5 separate regions of the Homo sapiens genome follow, and regions 2, 3, 4 and 5 are each linked to region 1. Evidence: promoter capture Hi-C in human tissues and cell types (Jung and others, 2019). All regions are on one chromosome and are shown on one strand. The core of a region is centred on a gene start or on the middle of the fragment in contact, and the rest is flanking DNA. Distances in the headings are between cores, read along the strand shown. Region 1 holds the start of ADRA1B (adrenoceptor alpha 1B). Region 2 has its middle 200 kb from the start of LINC01847. Region 3 has its middle 180 kb from the start of LINC01847. Region 4 has its middle 150 kb from the start of LINC01847. Region 5 overlaps LOC105377688 (a long non-coding RNA gene).

Evidence for each region. Contacts are between HindIII fragments. The study calls those that stand out against the background at their distance.
Region 2: a contact is called between a fragment that was not itself captured here and the fragment with the promoter of ADRA1B in region 1, in 2 of the 25 tissues and cell types used here (IMR-90 fibroblasts and mesendoderm cells).
Region 3: a contact is called between a fragment that was not itself captured here and the fragment with the promoter of ADRA1B in region 1, in 1 of the 25 tissues and cell types used here (IMR-90 fibroblasts).
Region 4: a fragment that was not itself captured here is called in contact with the fragment with the promoter of ADRA1B in region 1 in 1 of the 25 tissues and cell types used here (thymus).
Region 5: a contact is called between a fragment that was not itself captured here and the fragment with the promoter of ADRA1B in region 1, in 1 of the 25 tissues and cell types used here (IMR-90 fibroblasts).

The regions. Positions count from the first base shown.
Region 1 is chr5:159,914,797-159,918,675 of GRCh38, reverse strand. ADRA1B (adrenoceptor alpha 1B) reads right to left here and starts at 2,194. Exons shown (of 2, transcript NM_000679.4): 1 at 822-2,194. The coding sequence starts at 1,770. RefSeq lists enhancers at 1,004-1,620, 1,621-2,237 and a silencer at 2,301-2,360. The HindIII fragment of the contact is 5,190 bases long and covers 1-3,879 here.
Region 2 is chr5:159,673,162-159,677,040 of GRCh38, reverse strand. No RefSeq gene overlaps it. Among named protein-coding and RNA genes, the nearest start is that of LINC01847, 200 kb to the left of the region's middle. The HindIII fragment of the contact is 4,205 bases long and covers 1-3,737 here.
Region 3 is chr5:159,694,203-159,698,081 of GRCh38, reverse strand. No RefSeq gene overlaps it. Among named protein-coding and RNA genes, the nearest start is that of LINC01847, 180 kb to the left of the region's middle. The HindIII fragment of the contact is 5,495 bases long and covers 1-3,879 here.
Region 4 is chr5:159,722,840-159,726,718 of GRCh38, reverse strand. No RefSeq gene overlaps it. Among named protein-coding and RNA genes, the nearest start is that of LINC01847, 150 kb to the left of the region's middle. The HindIII fragment of the contact is 3,105 bases long and covers 292-3,396 here.
Region 5 is chr5:159,753,227-159,757,105 of GRCh38, reverse strand. The region is part of intron 1 of LOC105377688 (a long non-coding RNA gene); the gene reads left to right. Among named protein-coding and RNA genes, the nearest start is that of LINC01847, 120 kb to the left of the region's middle. The HindIII fragment of the contact is 5,614 bases long and covers 1-3,879 here.

The DNA of each region.
Region 1 (3,879 bases), core at 945-3,444:
ACGAACATGTTTTCATAAGAGGGGGAGGACGCACTGAATTCCATCTTACCAGGATTTGGTCTCTGTCAGCTGAGATGAGGGACAACTATAATTTGATTCTGGGCATTCCATAAATCACTAGAGTTAGAAACATTTTTGGGTAAAAACTAAAAATGTGTGACCCTCTAGTCATCTTCTCTTTCACATCTCAAGCTTTCAATAACTTAAAGGCTGGTTGGGGCTGTGTGGCTGTAAAATGCTCTTATTAACGGATAATGAACGTAGTATATCTGGGTGATAGCTGTCAGTGAAGAGGGGAGGGAGAGAATGCAGCCTCTGCAAAGCTCTTGAGAAGCGTGGCTTCTGCTCTAGCCCTGGAAATGCTGAATGAATGCTGCCTTTCTGTGTACGAGCTGCCTCCCTGCTTCCCAAATGCCGCGTCTGCAGTAACTACAAACTATTTTGTATGCTGCATTAGTGACGCTGCCTTAGCCGACACATCATTACTACTGAAATAACGCCGGTGTGATATTCAAGCCCAGTGAATATCCTTTTTAATTATTAAACCGAGGCTGTTGAGTGAGTCATTCCTCATACCAGATTTTCCTTCCCTGGTTCTATTTCCAGAAGCTAGTGCCTTAGCGTGTTCTACTAACACCTGAGTTGGTTTTTAGCCAGCTCCCCAATCTGCAAACCCTTTGCAGAACAAACAATATTATTCAATCTCCGAACACGCACAGACTGCATAAGAAACAAAACCCACAAAAAACTTTAGAGTAAGCTCATCAGTAAACCCAAGGTCCAAAAATGCCCAGTCCCCCTGCTGCTAGTCCCCAACTTACCAAGCGGTAGAGCGATGAAGAAGGGTAGCCAGCACAAGATGAACATACCGACCACAATGCCCAACGTCTTAGCTGCTTTCTTTTCCCTGGAGAACTTAAAAAGTTTGACAGCTATGGAACTCCTGGGGTTGTGGCCCTTGGCCTTGGTACTGCTAAGGGTGTCCTCGTGAAAGTTCTTGGAATGGATCCTCAGGGTCAGCTCCTTGGAGTTGGACATCTCCTTCATGACTCCTGCCTCTAGGTTCTTGGTGGTTCTCTTGGCCACTATATAGACACGGCAGTACATGACTAGAATGACCGCCAGAGGGATGTAGAAGGAGCCCAGAGAGGAGAAGAGGGCATAGAAGGGTTCTTCGGTGACCCCGCACTCCTTGTCATCGTTGGGTGCCGGCTCCTTCCACCCAAGGAGAGGCCCGATGGAGATGACGGTGGACAAGACCCAGACACTGAGCAGCGCCAAGATGGCCTTCCTCCGGGTGACCAGCGTGGGATACTGCAGAGAGTAGCGCACCCCGATGTAGCGATCGATGGAGATGGCGCACAGGCTCAGAATGGACGCTGTGCAGCACAGGACATCCACGGCTGCCCAGATGTCACAGAAGATCCGCCCCAGCACCCAGTAGCCGAGCACCTCTAGGGCCGCTGAGAAGGGCAGGACGGTGAAGCTCAACAGCAGGTCGGCCATGGCCAGGTTGACAATGAAGTAGTTGGTGGGCGTCCGCAGGTGCCGGTTGCAGGCCACAGACAAGATGACTAGGATGTTGCCCACGATGGCAAAGAGGATGAAGGCGCCCAGCACCAGGCCCACAGAGATGGCCCTGGTGATGTCCAGCTGGGGCAGTGTGGAGTTGCTCGAGGTCTGGTTGGGGCCAGTGAAGTTGGCATTTTTCAACTCTCCCCAGTGGGCAGGTGCTGATGTGTTGTGGCCGGTGTCCAGGTCGGGATTCATCTTAGAGTCCGCCCTCCATAGCCAGGGGGATGATTGGGCTCGGAAGGGCTGCGGCGAAGGCTCCTCAGCTGCCCTGAAACTTTGCTTCCCCCGTGGTCTTCTTCCCAGAGGCGCCCTCCTGGCGAGGAGTCATCTCCCCCGGGCAGCCCAGCCCGGCAGCACGTCTCCTGCCTGCACCGAGTCGCTCGCTCGCCTGTCAGAGGGAGGAGGAGGAGGAGAGGGGACGAGGCGGCAGCTCCAAGTTTAATGGTCCACGTCAGGCGCGCCTGGCCGGGCTCGCGGGGGAGCGGCGGGGAGGAGGGGGCGGCAGGGCCGGGGGCGCCCGGCGGTGCCCAGCTCGCTCGGGTCTGCGGACCGCGGCGCGTCCTCCGCCCAGCGAGCGCCGAAGAGGGTCTGCTTTCAATGAGCCGCTTCTGGGCTGACTGCACGGCGGTGACATCAGGCGGGGGAGCCCGGCGCCCTGACTCCGCGCGGCACTAGGGGGCAATGCGGGTCCAGCCAAGGCGCCCGCAGCCCCGACGCCGCCACCCCGCAAGCCGGGAAGCCAGCCGCGTCCCCCGCCGCTCCCAGGGCGCGCCCTCTGCGGGGGGCGGGGCGGGGGCAGGGGCCGCGAGGGCGGGACCTGGGCGTGGAGATCGCGGGTCACCCACCCCTAGGCGGCCCGCTGGGGTTATTTTCCCCGCTAGTCACTCTTCCGTGTCAAAGGTGGGTTGGGGGCTGCTTACCTTTAATAGGGGGCTCCCGGAGTGGGCCCCGGATTTAACGGGATATGCAACTTGTCCAGCACCTAAAAGAGGGAAAGAGAATTCTAGGATTGGGCAGGTGGGAGGGACTTGAGTCGGATCTGAGGCCAGCCCTCATCCTTCATCTGGCTCCCCTCGCCCCGTGCAAACTCTTTGGCCCCAGTAAAATCTGGCTTCTCTTCATCCTTTCATTCGCTCAGGCATTCACTCATTTATTCAGCCGATTCTTACGGAGTCTCCACTCTCTGCCCTGGCTCTGGGCGCTGTGAACATAGCAACTGAACAAAATAGACGGACTCCTGCCCTATAGGAGCGTAGCTTCTCCCGACAGAAGACAGACAGTATACTAAATAAGCAAATGATGAGGTGTGTAATGTGATGACAGGTGTTAGGCTGAAAATAAAGTAAGGAGGGGGAAATGCAGTGGGGTGTTTGTGGGGTGGATTTGAAATGTTAAGTGGGTGCTTGGGATGTCACTGAAGTGATATTTGAGGAAACATGAAGGGAATTGAGGGAGGAAGCTAGCTGGCTATCTGGGAGTGGGGGTGAGGGAGGTCAGAGACCTGGGGAAGGGACGTAGAGGATCTTGGTTATTTGTTGAGTTTTTTCCTTTCTGTCTGATATCCATGTTGGACATTCAGTCACAGGGACGCACTCCCAAAGGTGGGTGAATGGTACTTAGAAGAGAAAGTATGGGCCAAGAAAGAAAGAAAGAAAAAGCCAAAGAACTTTATGTTAGTTCACATTTATCCAACATTTATTTTGTCCTAGACAGTGTGCTGAGTTCTTTTTGCATTTTCTCATGACTCTCATGAGAGAAAGAATACACTCTTCACCATTTCTATTTCATGGATGAGACACCAAATTATGGGGAAGTTTAGCTGTTCGCCCAAGTTCACAAAGGCATGGAGGAGAGCTGCTGGGAACTGAACTCAACTGTGGGGTCTCTCCCAAAGTTGGGTACTCAGCTACTGTGTCATACTTTTCCCCCGGGGCAAGGTAGGGGATGGAACCACTGTTATAGATGGAGCTGCCTTTTGAGTAGTTAATTTTGGGGCCTGAGCCACTGGTGCTGGGCAGGGACTCCCATGAATTGAGCGCTTACTGATAGCCATGCATTTACTCAGTTTCTTTGAGACTTTACAATTCTTTGAGAGAAGCATAACCATTGTTCATTGAGAGATGAGAAACAGTGGTTCAGAGAGAGTCAGTTGATTCCTGAGGTCATAGGCTAGCAAATATATGGCAGAGCAATGGGCAGTGGCAGCTGGAGATTGAAAAGTAAAGCCTGATACCTTCTTTTACTCCAGTTCACAAGCCTGCATCTTGGGTTTCTCACCTTCTGCTCTTGATACTTGTTATAACT
Region 2 (3,879 bases), core at 386-2,885, 240 kb after region 1:
GGCATCACTCTTTCCCTAATGTCAGGCTGCACAGCTCTTGGCTCCAAAAGAGACACCTTCCTTCTGCTTGAGGAAGGTTGTTCAGGGTCCACGGGCTCTTCACTTAGCGGGTAATGAATGCTGCCAGGACTGGGTTCTTTCTTTCAAGGCAGTGGGTTCCCTTCTGGCCCAGGTCATATCTAGAAATGTTATCTGAGAGCTAGGGCTTCGATGGGGGCCTCATGACCCCGACCAGTGCCCTATCCTGCTGTGGTTGAGCTGGTATGCAAGATGCAAGACAATGTCCTTCCCACTCTTTCCTCTCTTGTTCTCAAGCAGAAGGAAGGGGTCTTTTTTGGAGCCAAGAGCTGTGCAGCCTGGGGTTAGGGAAGGGGTGATGCCAGCACTCCCTTGGCTGCCCTAGCTAGTGTCTCAGTATGTCACACGCCCTGCCCCCAACACCCAGTCAACTGTCTCTGGGCCTAGTTCAGCACTAGGACTCACCTAAGAGTTGCAGTCCTTATGGCCTAGACTGCCTTTCAAGTTTACTTGGAGACACAGAGCACTGTAGTCCTTGGTGGCAAGGTTTGTGGGAACTCAAGTTTGGACCACTAGGATTGGAGATTCCCCTTTGGGTAAGGCTGGTTTTAAATGCTCCCTCCATGGACAAGTGTCAGCTGAGTTTGGTCCAGTTTTCCTTCGTGCTCCAACAGGACGGCGGTGATTTCAATGCCTCACAATTGTTGTGTTCTTTCTCCACCAGCAACCAGATATGCTCTCCATGCCATGCCACCACAGCTGCTCGGGGTGGCATTAGAGATTCAGGACTGTTTTTCAGTCTCTTCACTGGCTCTGTCAGCAATATGAAGTTAAAACCGGGTACTATGAGTGCTCACCTAAGATCTCAACAGACCAGGACAACAGACCAAATGAGACTAGATAAAGTGTAAGAAGTATAAACAGCATGTGCTGAACTTACAAAATAAACTAGCTTGTGCTTGTGGATTAGAAGCCTAAAGACAAATGTAAAATAAAAAAATAAACAAGAAAACATGAAGAAGGAGGATTCTGAAGTATTTTCTGAACTCCATGGACAAGAGGGCTATGAATGATTAGCAGTGTTAGCTATGGGCAAGGAATGGGAGGGTGCCAGTGGAGATACTGCATTTTTTGCTCTAAGTCAATGGTGGGACCCTGCTGTTTCCAAAAGTGTGTATATTCATAAAACGTGTAGTAGTCACCCGGTTTTTTCTTGCTCAGTGTCCATCCCTATACTCTTTTTCTGGTAAGTGAAACCTGTTTTTGTTTGGATATATAAGCCTTCACCACTCCCCACACAAATAATTCCAGCGTTGCTGACTCTACTACCAATTTGGTGTACAGGAGAGGACCAGGTTTGCCCTACCAGTGCACCACATTCCCATGGCCACCATGATTGTTTCAAGGGTGATCAGGTGGTCCCAGCAGAATCAATGAAATGAAATTCTGAGATTTTTGCTATGTTTTAAAAAAGGAAATCTCACTATGACTATTCAGCATGGTTATTGAGAGAATAAGATAAAACTGCGGAGCTGCTTGGCAATCCTTTTAGCACTATGAGAGGAAAGAAAGCTTGATAATAAAACCAAAGAAGGGAAAATAAAGACAACAGATATTGAATCTGGTGATGTTATTTGAGCAACTAGATCTAGCTGTGCCTAAAGCCTTTCATTTATATACATCAGGTAAATTTTATCTTTTTGCTTAAGACATTTTGTGTTTGGTTTTCTGACCCTTTTAACCAAATAATGAATTTCTAGGGAATGAATATTCCCTAGTGAATATTTGTGATTTAATAAAAGTAAAAAAGGCCACATTCAAGATGGTGATGATCTCATTGTTTTCTGTGCTGGTCACAAAGGTTAAAAAGGAGTTTTTCGTTGGAAGAGGAAAAGACTATTATTATAGGAGCCAGAATTTATTGAATGCTTACTATATGCTTGGCACTGTGCTCATTAAACCCTCATTACAACTCTATGTTCTATGTTGAGATAGAAGTTAATATTATTCCCTCATATTACAGATTAGAAATTGAAGCTTACAAGGATTAAAAATTTGTCTTAAGGTCACACAATTGATGAGTGAAGGAGCCAAATTTGAATTCAATATTAAATCTCATGTTCTTGACTTTGAAACTGAACTCTTTTCTCTACTTAAAGCTTTTCCAAGATAAAATTCAGAGAAATTCCTACTTTATCAATAACTATCTGGATATTTGAAAAATAGTTTTATTTTATTGCTTCACACACACACACACACACACACACACACACACACACACACAGAGAGAGAGACAGAGAGAGAGAGAGAGAAAATAAACACCGACACACCTTTCTGAGGAAGGTGGAATCTGATAGCAGAAAGTTTATTAGCTGAGGCCAGTGATAGCTTTGGTATGAAAACTTGTGACCAATGACACTGTGTGCCACAGTAGAATTACTCATCATAATTTTTTAAAGTGAGGAATTTGGAGGGAAGGTATTTGCAGTACCTAGCCTCCCCAACTTCTGTATTTTTATAGAGAATAATCTAGAAGAGCATAGAAGCCTGGGAGACTGGGTACTGCAAACAAGAAATGAAGAACAAAAGAATGCCCTTCACCTCTTCTCTTACTTCCCTTTGTTCTCCAACCCAACTTGGAAAGAACAGAGATAAAAGGATCTAAGAGATGAAGAAGTATCTCAGGACTACACAGTAGCCATTATTGCTGTGCACCAAACATTTCTAGTTCTCCTCTCAGGTACAGGCAGAATTATACTTCACCACCTCCTTTGAAGCTAGGTGAAACCGTGTTATTGGCTTTTGTCAACGATGGGAGCAGAAGTGATGAGAAGAGACATTTGTTACTTCTGGATCTTGTTTCCTTTCCCTTGCCAAGTTGATCATGGCAAGGGAAAAGACAATGGAGTCCCTATCAGCCTTATCCCTGAACAAGCTCGTTGAGCAGCATCTTCCTGTCAACCCATTTTTGAATATTTAGAGCAAGGGAGAAATAAACACTTGTTTTGCTAAGGCTTTGAGATTTGGAAACGTTTGTTACTGCAACATTACCTAACCTCAACTGACTGATATAGAATATTTCAGGTTGTCTGCTATGGTGTGTTAGTCGGTTCTTGCATTTCTATAAAGGAATATCTGAGGCTGATTTATAAAGAAAAGAGGTTTAACTGTGTCATGGTTCTGTAGGCTGTTCAGGAAGCATAATGTTGACATCTGCTTGGCTTCTGGTGAGGCCCCAAGGAGCTTTGACTCATGGTGGAAGGTGAAGCAGAAGCAGGTGTGTCACATGGTGAGGTGAGAGTGAGCAATAGAGAGAGAGGAATAGAGAGAGAGAGAGAGGAAGTACCACACTCTTAAACAACCAGATCTTGCATGAACTCAGAGCAAGAACTCACTCATTACCACAAGACAGGCACTAAGACATTCATGAGAGATCTGCCTCCATAACACAAACGCTTCTCCCCAGGCCCCAGCTCCAATACTGGGGATTACCTTTCAACAAGAGATTTGGAGAAGACAAACATCCAAACCATATTATTTCACCTTTTGCCCCCTAAATCTCATGTCCTTCTCACATTGCAAAATACAATCATCCCTTCTTAGTAGTCCCCCAAAGTCTTAACTCTTTCTAGCATCAACTAAATAAAAAATCCAAAGTCCAAAATCTCATAAAAGTCCCAAGACAGGCTCCTTCTACCTATAAGCCTGTATGATTAAAAAACAAAAAAACAAGTTATTTACTTCCGAGATACCATAGTGGTACAGGCATTGGATAAACATTCCCATTTCAAAAGGAAGACATTAGCCAAATGAAAAGGGCAACAGGTCCCATGCAAGACCGAAACTAAACAGGACAGACAT
Region 3 (3,879 bases), core at 364-2,863, 220 kb after region 1:
GTCCTTCTAATGTTTATTCACATTTCCTCCAGCTTAGAAGGACAAATGGGGCCAAGCAGCTGGTGATTGACAGTGAGAGGTGTCCTTTGACTTGAATTTAAAATGCAAACTGATGTAAAGGAAATCAATAAGTACATTTTTGCTACAAAAATAGTTTCATGTCATTTTTCTGGTGGTGGCTGTTGAACACAAAGAATTTCAAGGTGGACAAGAAAGTAGGTAGGATGTTTCCTAAAGAAAAGCCCTACATAGAGAAACAAAGGCCAACTTACTCCTGCAAGCAAGATCATGAACATGTTTAGAGAGAGGTACCCTTGGATCTGGTGATCAGTGACTCAGGGAGCAGCTGGTGAGGGAGGAGGTGGCTCTAGGCAGTGTTGGGAAGGCCTCAGTCTCTTCACATATTTATTATACTTGGTAACAATATCAATCCAGAGCTGAGAACTAGGTCCATGGACACCCTTAGATCAAAGACATGAAAAGGTCCTCTTTCTTTTCTGAGCCTCACCAACCTCAGAAGGTGTACCTCTTCCTAGAGGGAAGAGCACATAAGAGACAAAAAGGGGCCTGAAAGTGACCCTCCCACAGCTTCAGACAAGACAGAAGGTCCAGGTGAAAACAGGGGCAGGAGGGAAGTGGAGGGAGAGAATAGTCCTATTCTGAACAGTAGCACTTCAGGAACTATGGCACTCGGCAGAGGTGACTTTCTTTAACTTTTTTTAAAAATCAAGGTAAAACTAATATCATATAAAATTAACCCTCTTAAAGTGTGCATTTTGGTGGCGGTTTAATACATTCGCAATGTTGTGCAACCATCAGCTCTAATTCTCAACATTTCCATCACCCCCAAGGGAGAATATACCTATGAAGCAGTCACTCTCATTCCACCCTCCCCAGAGGCAATGTTTTTACTGGGGACCTTTCTGCCCTCCCTACATTGTTCCCCAAATCATACTCAGGACTCAATAGATGCCTTTTCAAGGCTGGTTGCAAACCCTCCATCCGTGTGTCTGTGTAGACTCAGCGTTTGCTTCTCTGGGGACTAGGGTAAAGTTGGCTTAGGCCACAGGAGACTCCCAAGACTCTGTGCTGAGTGCTGTCACAGGTGCCTTTGCCCAAAGGCCCACATCTCTAACAAAGGCATGCCATGCCTTTGGGGAGGCATCTGCAGGTGCTTGGCAAGAAGCATTCATAGCACATTTAAGGCTGGCTCTGGATCCTACTCAGGAGTGGAAGCATTTTTTTTTTTGATCAGGAAGAAATTTTCAGCTGGATACAAGCCCCTTGCTCCAAATCAGTGTTTCAAGTAATGCCCGAAAGCTTCTTAAGGGACAGTGTCCCATCTCTCATTATGTCCCCAGAAGGCCAGCACAATATAGCACAGTCAATGTCTGTGGAATTGCCCACTAGGAGGTAAAGGGTCAGTTAGCATGCTGGTAAGAGTCTGTCTGGAGAGTCAGCCAGAGCTGGGTTGGATTCTCGCTTCTGCCCCTGTAATATGGATCTCTGGTTTATCTGACCTCACTGTCCTCATTTGCAAAAGAAAGTTACAATAACACTTATCTTTTAGGACTATTGTGAGTATTTATGAGTCAATAGTAGATGTAAACAAAGTGCTTAATACAGTTGCTCCAATGTTGGAGACCTCCACATACCACAGGAAAAGTATTGTCTCACTTGTAGGACTGAAAAAGAGGGATAGAAGACACATGATGTTGTTGGAAAAGTAAGGAACAATCTTGGCTGGAGAGACAAGCAGGGTCAACTGGAAGACAGCAGGGTGGTTTCAGGCCAACTAACAGGAAGCAAGACATCACTTGTGCTTCTCGTTTGCTGAGTCCCAGAGATGATGCTTTCAAAAGCCTCTTCAGGCAGCTGGGGGCCAAAGAACAAAACTGATGGGGTCTGTCCAAACAACCAGCCTAGCCTTTAGTCCCATGTGTTCTTGCAAAACCAGAAAAATGAACTTTCTCGACTAACCTCCTACAATAGGACTCAAATGTCCCACAAAGGTCCTGTCCCTTGGCATCCCAGATGAAGGTCCCAGCCTGGGGTGTGAGAACAGAGTCTGTATTAAGCAGCAAGAGGCAGATTCCCAAATACCAGGAGGAGCTTGTTTTAATATGTGGAGTTACATTCTCCGCTCTGCATATCTGCATTCCCATGGGAGGCGGGACACATTTCTCCCAATCCATGTATGCCTCTGAATTCTTCCTACAGCAAGCTAAGCAAACTGTTGACATGAAACAAACTGTTTCTGCTTCACCCAAGTAGATTGTTTTCCGGGGCCCTGGTGCTCCCTGAAACTTGCCATGTTGGGCAAAGAAAAATATTCTATTTTGGAGCTATGATGGATTTAGTTAAGATAGGTCAAAGTTCTTTCCCTTCTTTGTTAGAGAATTGCTTATGTCTTGATTGAAATTTGTTAAATTTGGGTAGGAGCAGTTTTACCAAGTCTATCAAAAATAGAAAAAAAAAGAGAAGATATAGTATCACTTTAATGTATGTGTGTGTGAGTTTACATTTACCTTGAACTTTTTCTCATTCTAAAATGCCAACCAGTTCTGTTGTTTATAATCTAACTGGAAGCAGCTGAAGAGTGATGTTTTGAGACACACCAAGAACTGTTATTATTAGCCCCTCCACTCAACATTAATCAAACAGACATGGGATGCCTTTATGAGAGGCATGAAACTTGGAGAATAAATGAAACTTAGATGCCAGAGTCAAGCTTGAATATCTTTTTTTAATTTTTAATTTTGTGGGTACAAAGCAGGTATATATATTTATGGGGTACATGAGAGGTTTTTTTCTCCTTTAAAATATTTCAATAGGTTTTTGGAGAACAGATGGTGTTTGGTTATATGAATACATTCTTCAGTGGTGATTTCTGAGATTTTGGTCCACCCATCACCTGAGCAGTGTACACTGTACCCAGTGTATAATCTTTTATCCCTCACCCCCTCCCACCTTTTCCCCCAAGTCCCCCAAATCCATTGTATCATGCCTATGCCTTTGCATCCCACTTATGAAAGAGAACATATGATGTTTGGTTTTCCATTCCTGAGTTACTTCACTTAGAATAACTGTCTCCAATTTCATCCAGGTTGCTGCGAATGCCATTATTTTTTTCCTTTTTATGGCTGAGTAGTATTCCATGGTGTGGGTGTATATATATATATATATATATATATATATATATACATACACACACCATTTTGTTTATCCACTTGTTGATTGATGGGCATTTGGGCTGGTTCCACATTTTTGAAGTTGTGAGTTGTGCTGCTATAAACATGTGTGTGCAAGTATCTTTTTCATATAATGACTTCTTTTCCTCTGAGTAGATACCCAGTAGTGGGATTGGTGGATCAAATGGTAGATCTACTTTTGGTTCTTTAAGGAATCTCCACACTGTTTTCCATAGTGGTTGTACATAGTTTACACTCCCACCAACAGTGTAAAAGTGTTCTCTTTTCACCACATCCATGCTGACATCTATTATTTTTTGATTTTTTGATTATGGCCATTCTTGCAGGAGTAAGGTGGTATCGCATTGTGGTTTTGATTTGCATTTCTCTGATCATTAATGATGTTGAGCATTTTTTCATATGTTTGTTGGCCATTTGCATATCTTCTTTTGAGAATTGTCCGTTCATGTCCTTAGCCCACTTTTTGATGGAATTGTTTGTTTTTTTCTTGCTGATTTGTTTGAGTTCCTTATAGATTCTGGATATTAGTCCTTTGTTGGATGTATAAATTGCAAAGATTTTCTCCCACTTTGTGAGTTGTCTGTTTACTCTGTTGATTCTTTCTTTTGGTTTGCAGAAGCTATTTAGTTATTAAGTCCTATCGATTTATCTTTGTTTTTTGTTTGCG
Region 4 (3,879 bases), core at 595-3,094, 190 kb after region 1:
CTTTTTTCTTTTTTTTTTAATTTGAGACAGAGTCTTGCTCTGTCACCCAGGCTGGAGTGCAGTGGCATGACCTTGGCTCACTGCAACCTCCACCTCCCTGGTTCAAGTGATTCTCATGCCTCAGCCTCCTGAGCAGCTGAGATTACAGGTGTGCACCACCACGCCTGGCTAATTTTTGTATTTTTAGTGGAAACAGGTTTCACCATGTTGGCCAGGCTGGTCTTGAACTCCTGGCCTCAAATGATCTGCCTGTCTTGGCCTCCCAAGGTGCTGGGATTACAGGCGTGAGCCATCACACCTGGCCAATGAGGGTATGTTATTAATCTTATTTTGTAAAAGAGGAAAATTAGGCTAAGAGAAGTTATGTAACTTGGCCAAATTTACACAGCAATGAAATGGAGAGTCAAGATTAAAATCTGGGTCCTCTGGACTACCTGGTTATAAGCATTATAAAAACATTGTATTAGAAGCCAAGTGGACTTAGTTTTCTTCTTGGTAAAAATGCTGTTCATGATTCCTGCATAGTCGTGTCTCCTCCATACCATGAAGAGGCCTGGGTTCTGCAGATACCATGGAAACAAGATGTAAGAGTTAGCTTCATGGAGACTACAGTCTTGTAAAAGGAACAGACATGATTCAAACGACCCCGCTAATAAATGTAAAATCCCAATGGAAGCAGGTGTTCTGAATTGTTACCCAGGTGGGCCTGACCTAGCCTAAAAGTTCAGGGAAGACAACCTGAGGAAGTGATCTTTGAACTAAGACCTAAGAGTTTGGTGGAGTTAGCTAGATAAAGGGGAGAGGGGTGGTAGTGGGATGGGTGACGTTGAAGAGGTGAGGACAGCCCTGTGCAAAAGTCTTGTGGAAGGATGGAGCTTGGCTCTGAAATAAGGTCAGTGTGTTTGGGGCACAGGATGTTAGGATATGTGAAAGGAGGGGAAGCTGGAAAAGGACACAGATCAACCATGCAGGGGCTTAAAGGCCGTTTTAGGTCCTTAGGGACCTAATGTTTACCAGAGTTTATGGCTTATTTTTGCTGACTCCTGTCTTTCTCCTTCTTTCTCAAGAATCTGTTCCCTTAACCCTGCTGTCCCCTTCTCTTTCAAAAGAATGCAAAGACCTGCTCAAGGGGACAGCCAGCACATACGGGGCTCTGACCTGGTGTTTGGGTCCCCTGCAACCTGCTGCAGGCCAGTGAAACAGTGCGTTCCTTTCTAAGACAAGAAAGCCCTTGACATTCGTTCCTTGGCAAAAGAACCAGACCTGCCAGGAAGGTCCAGTGGCCAGGGCCTCGAATGCTGGAAAGGAAATTAGTTTCAGCTAAAACACAGAGCCGAATGTCAGGCCTTTACGCTCCCTGCCTCCGATGCTAATCTGGCTGGTGACAGGGGGCTATGAGAGACAAAAGGTTATGCAGGCACTTTGTATTGGATGCCCCCCTCCTTTTTTGTTTCTGATGGTGTGATGAAGGATTCGGGCTGCTGAGCTCCTGCATTAATCAGATTCATTCCATTTTGTTAGGGAGGGCTGTTTTCTGATGTCTCTGAGGAAATAAAGATGATAAATAGGGGGAAGTCTCATACTTTATTAGCGTGGATGGGCAGACAGATCCCAGTAGTAATTAATCCCAGGATGTTTACAAATTTTCTCTTCTTTGTCAACCTAGAGTCAGGGTTTGCTGTTGTTGGCATAAAGAAAGACTGGAAGCTGAACAATGATGTTCTGCTCATGGAATCAGAGAGATGGCAAAATATTAATTAATCATCCCATGATAGACAGTGGTGTCCTAAATGTCAAGACCCCCAAACTGTAATGAAAAGCAAGTTTCAGTTGCGCGGGACTCTCATAGGAAAGCTTAGAAAAACCCTAGCTTAAGCGTGTGTTAACAAAGACCCTTCTGATTGATATGGAAAAGTGGGGTACCTAGAATGTAAGGGTTCCCCACACAATGCAAAACAGCTATAAATACTTGGAGAAATTGAGTTGTTTCAGAACATTAAGAGTATTTCAGAGTATTAAAAGTATTAAGGGTCAAGCAGAAAATGCTTTTGTTCCAATCCTGGGATTACTCAACATCTTTCCAGAACATCCAGGTTCTCTTTCTGGCCTAGTAAGGACTGGAGGATGGCTAAAGGTCAGTTGTCCTGGTATGATTTGCATTGTTGTGAGGCTTCAGGAACACTGTTATGAGCTTTGATTCCTTTTATGCTCTGACTCAAGAACAGGAGATTTAAGCTTTGATCCTGCCCTCATAAATCATGAACCATGTGACCTTAGGTAAGTCGCTTCACCTGACTTCTCTGAATTTCAGTTCACTCAACTGCAAAATCAAGGAACTGTAGCCACGCAAAGCTTGAAGTTCCTACATGGCTGAATTTAAAGGTCTGTACTTACAGCAATTTTAGGATATTAGGCTGAGTGTATGATCAAACCAGGATAGACACCCCTCCTGCTTTGTAAATACATTTTGGATGTGCGGGGTATATTTGGGGAGTGGTGGTGGTGGGAGAGGGTTTACCTATTTAAAAAAAAATTTTAAACTTTAAAAATAAATAGCTAATAGCTAATGCACGTGAGGCTTAACACCTAGGTGATGGGTTGATAGGTGCAGCAAACCACCATGGCACACGTTTACCTATGTAACAAACCTGCACATCCTGCACATGTATCCTGGAACTTAAAATATTTCAGAAACCACCTATGAATTATTTGTAATTGTACACTGAATATATAGGTGTTTCTGAAGAGTTCTATAGTGCTTAAAACAGTTTGTTCTCTTGGATATTTTATACTCCCTGAAGTTTTTTGTTGTTGCTTTTTTGTACATATTCTCATTTTGTTTTCAGACACTTTATTCCTAAAACATGGAAAGGTCAGCATCAGCCAATAGATTGAGAATTTGCATTGTCTGAGTTAAGGAAAGCATCTTGCATTTTCTGGAGCACTGAGCATCTCGTCTTGAACCTTCTGAGTTCTGGGAAGCTCCAAATTCATTTGCTGAAGCAAGAAGGAAAAACAGTTCTTGGAGGGAATCTGAAAGAGAATGAGACTGCACTGCCAATGGTCTTCTGGTCAACCCTGGCCTGTGCGACTCCACATGGGTCCTGTCCATCACACTCTGCTCATGAGAAAATGCCCAAGAAATACCCACAAGTTTTAAGCAAAGAAACTCCGCTTCACTGGAGATATGCTGTTATTTGTGAGACCACCATGCCAACCTAATATTGCTGAACAAAAAGTAAGTAAAGGGAAACTTTAAACAAACTGGCTTAAAGACGCAAATTAGAAAAGACCATCATTTTCTCTCTTGGGACTCAACCTCCAATGTGAACTAAAACCTAGAGTTCACCATGCTAATTTTCTAAACCTATTGAACCAGATCAAAATCTCTGTATTTAAATATGCTGCCAGCTGAACCTAAACAGGGCCAATATTTCATTTGGTTCAAACCCATGTTGTTTTTTGTTGTTTTTTGTTTTTTTTTTGTTTTTCTGCTCACAGAATTACCTAAGTGATTTGGTAGCTGGCATTTTTTTACTCAACAAGCCTTTAGAAATGTGAATGTGTGTGTTTGTGTGTGTGTGTGTTGAAACATTGGTTAGAAATGTGTGTGTGTGTATTTGTGTTGAAACATTGGTTAGAAATGTGTGTGTGTGTGTTGAAACATTGGTTAGAAATGTGTGTGTGTGTGTGTGTGTTGAAACATTGGTTAGAAATGTGTGTGTGTGTGTGTGTGTGTGTGTGTGTGTGTGTGTTGATGAAACATTGGTACTTTCTAAAAAATTAAATATCTATTTCTAAAGTTGTAGTTCAGGTCCCTTACATTTTTGGTATGAGAAAAAAAAATTTTGTGGATTTAAAGGTTTTCTTTTTAAATTT
Region 5 (3,879 bases), core at 858-3,357, 160 kb after region 1:
AGCTGGTAGGGGGGCACTTGTGTGAGCAAGATATTGAGCCTAAAGAAAATGGTCAAGGAAAATGTCTTGGGTGCTGGAGAGGGGAGTTTAAAGGTATGGGTCTGAAAAAGCAGTATTTGCTACTGAGGCTAAAGCATACCGGAGTGGACAGAAAGGACTGTTTGGTGGGGAAAAGGATATGGCATTTGGAAGCAGATAGGTCTGGATATAGATCCCGGCTCTGTCCATTTGTGTTCATTACCTTTCACTAGGCCATGCTGTGTAACAAATAGATTCCAACTCTCAATGGCTTACAAAATATTTCTTTCTTTCTCATATTACATAGTGTTGGCTACAGGTCAGTTGTAGCTCTTCCTCAGGCATTGGTGGGCTCAGATTCATTTCTTACTGCAAGACCCAAGTTAATGGAGAAGCAGCTTTTGGGACATGACTTCTCATAACAGAGGGCACAGGAACAATAAACCAAGTTGAATCATGCAATCATATTAAAAGCCTTTACTTGGATGGATGTGACCTATGCTGTGTTTGCTCATGTTCCATTGGTCAAAGCAAGTCAAATTGCCAAGACCAACATCTATGTGGTAGTGATAAATACCAATATGGGGAGAAGGAGGTGAAAATGGAAAATAACAATGCAAGCTACCACATTGTCTAAAGATTTTGAAACTCTGGGCTTCAGTTATCCCTTGTGCAATACAGTGATATCAGCATTTGTTTTCTAAAATTGTTGGGAGGAAGAAATAAAATTAATTTGTGTATAAAACCTACTATAGTGCCTAGTGTAAAATAATATTTTATGCACATGAGATTGCCTTGCCTTGGTACTCAGAATAGTGCATAGTTCCAATGTCAGAGGGAATTAAACTTTCTGCTCCCCATTTTTCTTCTGCCAAATGACTGGATGATGTGTAAGAGCTCTTCTGACTCTAAAGTCCTCTGTTTCTAAAAATCTTATACTAAAGAATCAAATAGTCCCTTACCCTAAAAGTACCCTCTAGCTAAAGAGGAAACTTTAAGTTTGTCAGAGGTTTTATTTGGCTTGCCTTTCCTCGACCCAGCCAACTACCAGGGGCAGAGAAAAGACTTGTTCAAATAAACCTAAGAAACCTATAGGAACCAAAGTGCACGGTAGATCATCTCATCATCCATTAGCAACACTGTTTGAGCTTACAAAAAGAGTGACGCTTCACAGAGAAAGGTCAGGATATTCTCACTTCACCTGGAGGAGTTTAGCCACCTGGAATAATAAGCTTTGCTGGTGAGATGTGAGATCTGACAGTGAGTGAGGAAATTGTTGAAGAGGAGGCATTGAAAATGCCCGGAGACTTCCCAGGTGTCACCTGCTGCCTTGTAAATGTGTGAAATCCTTGGAAGGGTGTCTGGCAGAGCCCCAGAACCTACCACCATATGTCATTGACTGTTTCACAGAGTGGAAGAAGGTATAGGCATGTCTGAACAATGTTCAAGTGATCAATTATATCAGTTAGGATTGTGAGTGGCTGCAAGGTACAGAGACCAGAGGAGAATGTCTTATACAAGACAGGGTTTATTTTATCAGGTAATCATACATCTGCAAGTAGGCAGACACTGCTTCACACTGGTGCCAATGGCATGGGCATTTCTGTTGTGAATCAGTCTAGAAGAAGGTTGGTATGCAAAGATTTAGTAGGTGGCAAATTGAAATGTAGACTTAGACCCAAAGACTTCAAAGGTGCATTCCAAATTTAACTTACAGTTTGGGGGAGGGGTGGTTTACCAGATGCCTAATCTAAATACATAGAAATTTAAAATTAAACAGAGTTAGCCGGGCACATTGGCTCACGCCTGTAATCCCAGCACTTTGGGAAGTCCAGGAAGGCAGATCACTTGAGGTCAGGAGTTTGAGACAGGCCTGGCCAGCATGGTGAAACCCCATCTCTACTAAAAATACGAAACTTAGCCAGGCGAGGTGGCAGGCACCTATAATCCCAGCTACTCGGGAGGCTGAGGCACAAGGATCACTTGAACCTGGGAGGCAGAGGTTGCAGTGAGGCAAGATCACGCCACTGCACTCCAGCTTGGATGATAGACTGAGACTCAGTCTCAAAAAGAAAAAAAAAATTAATTAATTAAACAGAGTTAATTGGTCACGTATCTAAGTACCTGCCTTGGTTCTAGTCTGGCTTGGGTTTGTAAGTAATAGAACAAAATACAAGACACAGTCCAAGTTTAAAAGTAAATGAACTTAATATACATAGAAAGGAGATTATTACATGTAGGGAAAGGCTGGTAAAAAAAATCATGACAATCTTTCTTCTATCTTTGTACAAATCTCTATTATTTCTACTAGAATAGCCATCACCCTCCTGCATCCCTCTAGTTATTCTAGTCTCCACACAGCAGTCAAAGAGATTTTTAATAAATATTAATTAGATATCCCTCCTATGCCTAAAACCCTCCAATACTTCCATTGAATTTAGTGCAAAATCCAAACTAATTCCTCTGGTGTACTTGATAGGCCCACCCTTCCCCTTCAACCCTATCTAGCACCAGTGTCCCCTTACCTCTCTGCTCTAGCCACACAGGCCTTCTTTCTGCTCACATCAGGCTAGTTTCTGCCCCACGGCCTTTGCACTTATCATATACTTCACCTGGGCCACTCTTCCCTCAGAGGAAAGGTGGAGTCCTTTCAATGCACATGTCACTTTTCCAGAGTTCTTTTCCCTGATCACCCTATCTGAAGTAACCCTCCTCATCCTCCTGTTTATTACATTCCATTATCCTGTGTTTAAAATAATTACTGTCACCACCTGAATGTATCATATTTATTTGTGGTTTTTCATCTATGGTAGACTGTAAGCTCTATGAGGGTATAGCCTGGCACATGTATACACCCAGTAAGTACAGATGCTCCTCGACTTACAGTGGTGTTACGGCCTGATAAACCCATTGTCAGTTGAAAATAGTGTTAGTCAAAAATACATTTAAAGAGAACACTTCTACACTGTTGGTGGGAATGTAAACTAGTACAACCGTTATGGAAAACAGTGTGGAGATTCCTTAAATAACTAAAAGTAGAACTACCATTTGATCCAGCAATCCCACTACTGGGTATCTACCCAGAGGAAAAGAAGTCACTATACAAAAAAGATACGTGCACATGCATATTTATACTAGCACAATTCACAATTGCAAAAATATGGAACCAGCCCTAATGCCCATCAATCAACGAGTGGATAAAGAAACTGTGCTATATATATATGATGGAATACTACTCAGCCATAAAAAGGAACGAATTAATGGCATTCACAGCAACCTAAATGGAATTGGAGACTATTATTCTAAGTAAAGTAACTCAAGAATGAAAAACCAAACCTCACATGTTGTCATTCATAAATGGGAGCTAAGTTATGAGGATGCAAAGGCATAAGAATGATACAACGAACTTTGGGGACTCAGGGGAAAGTGTGTGGGGGGGTGAGGGATAAAAGACTACAAATTGGGTTCAGTGTATACTGCTCGGGTGATAGGTGCACCAAAATCCTACAAGTCACCACTGAAGAACTTACTCTTGTAACCAAAAGCCACCTGTTCCCCCAAAACTTATCGAAATAAATTTTTTTTAAAAAAATATGTTTAATATACCTAACCTATCCAATGAATATCACAGCTTAGCCTTGACAACCTTAAACATACACAGAACACTTACATGAGCCTAGAATTGGGCAATATCATCTAACACAAAGCCTATTTCATATTTCATAATAAAGTGTTGACTATCTTAGGTAATTTATCGGATATAGCACACTGAAGCTTATCAGTTGTTTACCCTTCTAATGGTACATCTGACTGGGAGCTATGGCTCACTGATGCCCAGCATCATGAGAGAGTATCATCCTG